Regions from separate parts of the Homo sapiens genome. Here region 1 is linked to region 2. The links are contacts of gene promoters, found by promoter capture Hi-C in blood cells and fetal thymus (Javierre and others, 2016). All regions are on one chromosome and are shown on one strand. The core of a region is centred on a gene start or on the middle of the fragment in contact, and the rest is flanking DNA. Distances in the headings are between cores, read along the strand shown.

Evidence for each region. Contacts are between HindIII fragments. The CHiCAGO score rates a contact against its expected background, and 5 or more counts as called.
Region 1: a contact is called between a fragment that was not itself captured here and the fragment with the promoter of FANCF in region 2, in 2 of 17 cell types (naive CD4 T cells and non-activated CD4 T cells). The highest score is 5.9, in naive CD4 T cells.

The regions. Positions count from the first base shown.
Region 1 is chr11:22,691,156-22,694,045 of GRCh38, reverse strand. The region is part of intron 3 of GAS2 (growth arrest specific 2); the gene reads right to left. Among named protein-coding and RNA genes, the nearest start is that of GAS2, 26 kb to the right of the region's middle. The HindIII fragment of the contact is 1,999 bases long and covers 252-2,250 here.
Region 2 is chr11:22,624,089-22,627,131 of GRCh38, reverse strand. It overlaps FANCF (FA complementation group F), which reads left to right and starts at 1,309. Exons shown (of 1, transcript NM_022725.4): 1 at 1,309-3,043. The coding sequence starts at 1,322. The coding sequence ends at 2,446. It also overlaps a transcript of GAS2 not described here. RefSeq lists enhancers at 1,330-1,519, 846-1,745, 1,610-1,819, 2,200-2,249, 2,260-2,419. The HindIII fragment of the contact is 15,033 bases long and covers 1-3,043 here.

The sequences.
Region 1 (2,890 bases), core at 2-2,501, 67 kb before region 2:
CCTGATCCTCTCCCTCCTCCTTCCCGCTACCCTCTGAAAGACACCAGTGTGTGTTGTTCCCCTGTATGTGTCCATGGGTTCTCATCATTTAGATACCACTTATAAGTGAGAACATGCAGTATTTGGGTTTCTTTGTATAACAAAAAGAGCAACAAATTTTCTGATTGCCCAATTCCCAGACTAGAGCCAAATTATAGACCCAGAGCTCACTGAATGAAGGCAGTAATGATCTCAAGTCTTTATATAAAGCTTCCTTCCAATCTCCAAAGGGACCTGATCTGTTTACTATGCATTCAGAAAAGGGAAATGCTTTGTGAGGAATCAGGTGACAGTTAGATTTTTTACCTAAACCTACTTTACACTATAACTAGTACACTTTTGCAAACATTAGATGTTATTTTTATAGTTTTACCTGAATGTGCAATTTGCATGGATATTCTCAAAAAATGTCATAATTTTTATCCTTGACACATGGAATAAGTTCTTTTGTGGTAAAAGTACCAAATAAAAAAAGCACACCTATTTAAAAAGTCAGAGATTCATGCTGTTATTAATGACCTGAACATTGCAAAAAATAAAAGTGACTTCTACCACATCTCAATGAAAATCAGTAAAAAAAGATTGACATGACTTGGAAACAGTGGGAAGATTACAATGAAGTAACATATTTAATCAGAATCGATGTTACAGATGTGGTCTTTTCAATGAAGTGTTATCACTCAATATCCTGGTACTTAACATTCATCTCTTGGTTTGGAGAATGGAATTTTCTTTATTCTTATAAGTAGAAAATTCCAGAATCAGTTTGCATATGTTTGACAGTAACAACAGAATTCTTACTATCCTATACACCATCTCCAGCCCTGTGACATAACCTACAGGGACCATGGATATTTCAACATCACAGGTCATCAAGCTCCTCTTCTATTTTACAATATTTGATATTGGAGATTTGATACTGCAAAGCAGGAATAGTAGGGAAACCAGACGGTTTCATAAAATACACACATTCTGGAGGGTAGAGAATAAATCTCATGAAAATGCAGAAAGGGGTTCTGCCAACTAAACAAAGTTTCAGCATCTAGTAGTAGGGGTCAGGTAGGAACATTGCCCTTTTAGGAAAGGACACGACACAAATGTTCCTCGCTTGTTCTTGTTGTCTGATGGAGACTGAATTTCTACCATGGGAACCAGTAATCATGAAACATTAAATGTTTATCATGAACTTAGTGCCATATGATCCACTGGGCCATATTTTTTATTGTGCCCAGCACTACTTTACCATTGAGTATGTGAAAGGAAAATATCTTGGGTCCCCAAAAATCACTAGGCTAAAAGGAAAACTCAAGCTGGAAAGTGCTGAGGACAAATGTGCCTCCCATTCTATTCAAAGTTATACCTCTGATGGCTGAGATAAATGCATTTCTGACTGCTTCCTTTGGAAAGGCTAATCAGAAACTCAAAAGAATGCGACTATTTCTCTCTCATCTGTCAGTGACCTGGAAGCATCCTCCCTACTTCGTGTCTTCCTGCCTTTGCCTCAAGTTGTCCTGCCTTTCCAGACCAAACCAATGTACTTCTTACATATATTGATGGATGTCTCATGTCTCCATAAAATGTATAAAACTAAGCTGTGCCCCTACCACCTTGGGCACATGTCATCAGGACTGCCTGAGGCTGTATCATGGGCGCACGTCCTCAGTCTTGGCAAAATAAACTTTCTAAATTAACTGAGACTTGTCTCCGATTTTCTGGGTTTACAAGTACAAGTGCCATGTATGGGATGGGCTCAATTAGACATGAAGATCTAGATAAGTTCCATAGGCACATCACTCACTCCCTATCTTGCCCAATTTTTCACATTGCTGCTTTCCGCTCCCCCACCCCCATCTGCAAATGTAGCCCATATCAAGTCTCCTGTGATGAGTTTTATTTGAAAAATAAAAGTCAAGCTCCTTTACATACCATTCTTTTTATTCTATATGATTTACCAACATGTATTGCTATGGCATTGAAGCCCGATTTAGGCATATCTCTGGAAGATAGTATAGAACAGAAACTCTCAGTGGAAAAAAAAACAAAAAACATTAAGCAAGACATTTCATTGTCTCTGATTTGGAGGTGAATAATTTGGCTATTTGGTCAGAGACTTAAAAAATAGTGACAGGGGGATTTAATTTTATACTGAGAAATAATTCAACCTCAGGAAGCAATTACAAAGTAAATAAAAAAATTAGTGTATTTAAAGCTTAAATATATTTTACCTATATTTTACAAATCCTGAGGAAGTGGACTTTACCACTAACTTTTCTTTTTCCTTTAGTCTCAGGCAGCAACATACCTATAAAAAAATTATTTCTTTCTACATCATGCCACTTATATTCTTCCCATCTCATCATAATATATTCTCTGTTTAATTCTAGCATTATGTTTGCAATTTAGAACAATAAATTTTAAGGGATATAAAATCATTTAGCTGTATAGCCAGCAATGAATGACTCCAGATTAATCACAGCTGAGATTTTATTTTCTTTTTCATACAAAACCTTTTATTGCATCTACCATACTTTCTTGTTCTGGCAGAGAGATCAGCAATAAACACAAATATCTGGATTTCTCAGAATTAAATCTTGATGAGATGTTCTCTAAACAAAAAGTGCTATTGATTTTTCTGAGAAGAAAATTTCTAATCTTTATGTCTTATTTAATTCCCAGATGGCACAAAACAACATCCTGAGGTATTGTTATCTTGCAGCTCAAGGAACCAAGTACTCCTGATGGGCAAATGTATTGTAGGCATTCTATCTGCAGGATGTTCTTTCTCCTGAACAAGGACTGGATTCTACATTTAGACGGTTAATATTCAGTTCCTTCCTTGGAGCATAATGCA
Region 2 (3,043 bases), core at 60-2,559:
CAAGTAAGAGTTTGAGATAACTAATAAAAATCAAATAATAGCCGGGCGCGGTGGCACACGCCTCTAATCCCAGCACTTTGGGAGGCCGAGGCGGGAGGATCACTTGAGGTCAGAAGTTCGAGACCAGCCTGACCAATAAGGTGAAATCCCATCTCTACTAAAAATACAAAAATTGGCCGCGCCTGGGCGACAGAATGAGACTCCGTTTCAAAATAAATAAATAAATGCATAAATCTGAATTAACAGCATGCACATCACTGCTTTACTTTCTAAAAGGTGTAGGAATGCTTATTTTAATAAATGAAAAATGACTCTTCCCCTCTTTTAAATTTGTTTCTCTTCCCCTTTTTGTTAAAGTACAAAACAAAACACCTTCCCCCACTTTTCGAATAGTTTTGGCTGTGTCTTTAGGACTGGAAGGAAATTCAGCTCAAATGAATTACTATATTATGAACTTAAGTAAGAATTGTTGTGCATTTTGTACAGAATGCAACTCCTAGGAGTTGACAAATGTTTGTTAAGTGCATCAGTGAGCGACATAGGACCTTCTCCTCCCTACTCTCTTGTCACGGTTTTTATTTAATCAAACATTTATTATTGTTCGATGCTCTTAAATGCCATTTCCTTCAGCTGATTATTTGTATGACAGAAGAGTCAATTAAGCTATTTTGTCCTAAAAATTACGAAAACGAAATGTACAATTGTGAAGTAAAATTTTGTTCCTTTGCAAATTTTAATAAATTATTGAAGTTTATTTTTTGTTTCAAATAATCTGGGCTTCAGTTCTAATAATGGAAGGACAATGTGAAGGCCCAGAATTCAGCATAGCGCCTGGCATTAATAGGAGGTCAGTACATTTTTAGTACATGTTTCTCAAATAGATCTTAAAATTTCATTTAAGAGCGTTTCCTCACGTCACAGTATGTCTCTGGCGTTACTTAATTTTGAAAAACCTCAACACAGATTCTAGTTTTAGGCAAAGCTCAGAAAATTTCTACTTAAGGATATTTCCAAAGCGAAAGGAAGCGCGGAGACGTTCATGACTGGCATCATCTCGCACGTGGTTCCGGAAATTCTCGGTAGGATGCCCTACATCTGCTCTCCCTCCACTAAGAAGAACCTCTTTGTGTGGCGAAAGTAAAAGTATTAGGGCTTTTAAGTTGCCCAGAGTCAAGGAACACGGATAAAGACGCTGGGAGATTGACATGCATTTCGACCAATAGCATTGCAGAGAGGCGTATCATTTCGCGGATGTTCCAATCAGTACGCAGAGAGTCGCCGTCTCCAAGGTGAAAGCGGAAGTAGGGCCTTCGCGCACCTCATGGAATCCCTTCTGCAGCACCTGGATCGCTTTTCCGAGCTTCTGGCGGTCTCAAGCACTACCTACGTCAGCACCTGGGACCCCGCCACCGTGCGCCGGGCCTTGCAGTGGGCGCGCTACCTGCGCCACATCCATCGGCGCTTTGGTCGGCATGGCCCCATTCGCACGGCTCTGGAGCGGCGGCTGCACAACCAGTGGAGGCAAGAGGGCGGCTTTGGGCGGGGTCCAGTTCCGGGATTAGCGAACTTCCAGGCCCTCGGTCACTGTGACGTCCTGCTCTCTCTGCGCCTGCTGGAGAACCGGGCCCTCGGGGATGCAGCTCGTTACCACCTGGTGCAGCAACTCTTTCCCGGCCCGGGCGTCCGGGACGCCGATGAGGAGACACTCCAAGAGAGCCTGGCCCGCCTTGCCCGCCGGCGGTCTGCGGTGCACATGCTGCGCTTCAATGGCTATAGAGAGAACCCAAATCTCCAGGAGGACTCTCTGATGAAGACCCAGGCGGAGCTGCTGCTGGAGCGTCTGCAGGAGGTGGGGAAGGCCGAAGCGGAGCGTCCCGCCAGGTTTCTCAGCAGCCTGTGGGAGCGCTTGCCTCAGAACAACTTCCTGAAGGTGATAGCGGTGGCGCTGTTGCAGCCGCCTTTGTCTCGTCGGCCCCAAGAAGAGTTGGAACCCGGCATCCACAAATCACCTGGAGAGGGGAGCCAAGTGCTAGTCCACTGGCTTCTGGGGAATTCGGAAGTCTTTGCTGCCTTTTGTCGCGCCCTCCCAGCCGGGCTTTTGACTTTAGTGACTAGCCGCCACCCAGCGCTGTCTCCTGTCTATCTGGGTCTGCTAACAGACTGGGGTCAACGTTTGCACTATGACCTTCAGAAAGGCATTTGGGTTGGAACTGAGTCCCAAGATGTGCCCTGGGAGGAGTTGCACAATAGGTTTCAAAGCCTCTGTCAGGCCCCTCCACCTCTGAAAGATAAAGTTCTAACTGCCCTGGAGACCTGTAAAGCGCAGGATGGAGATTTTGAAGTACCTGGTCTTAGCATCTGGACAGACCTCTTATTAGCTCTTCGTAGTGGTGCATTTAGGAAAAGACAAGTTTTGGGTCTCAGCGCAGGCCTCAGTTCTGTATAGGCAATGCTGTGTTATTACTTGAATATAGAATATATAGTTTACAAAATGAAAATTACAATGTTCTCACCAAATATATGCCTTCGTGTGTCCAAAGTATAATTATTTTAGATGCTAATTTTGAATAGTTTATTAAACAGTTATAAATATGCAAAGTAGCTGGCATGTAGTGTCACGGATTTTCTGGATAGAGGAAGTGATTGGAAGTACTCCACTTAAAGCCATGGAATTAGCAATAGTTTGCTTTTTAATAGAAGGCCCATTTGTAAGAATGTTGAAAATATGTGTACCGTTTAAAGAAAAAGCAGCTTTAAAGTGACAAACAAAATACCCTTTTTCTTTTAGTATGGTTTATTTTTCTAGGTTTTCTGTCCCTCCCTCAGTAGTGAAGAGTTTTCTTTATTCCTGGCAGTGTCAGGAATATTGGTTTGAAAAGCTGTTGGCCTATCTGGAGTTTGGCCTTGTTAACCTAGTATTCTAACCAGTTAACCAGCCTTAGTATGCATTAAAATTGTATTGTTCAGAAAGTTTGTTTCTCATTTTCTGCAAATTCTTACTTTGAAAATGAATCACCACATAGTATGTCCCTTTAAAGCATTG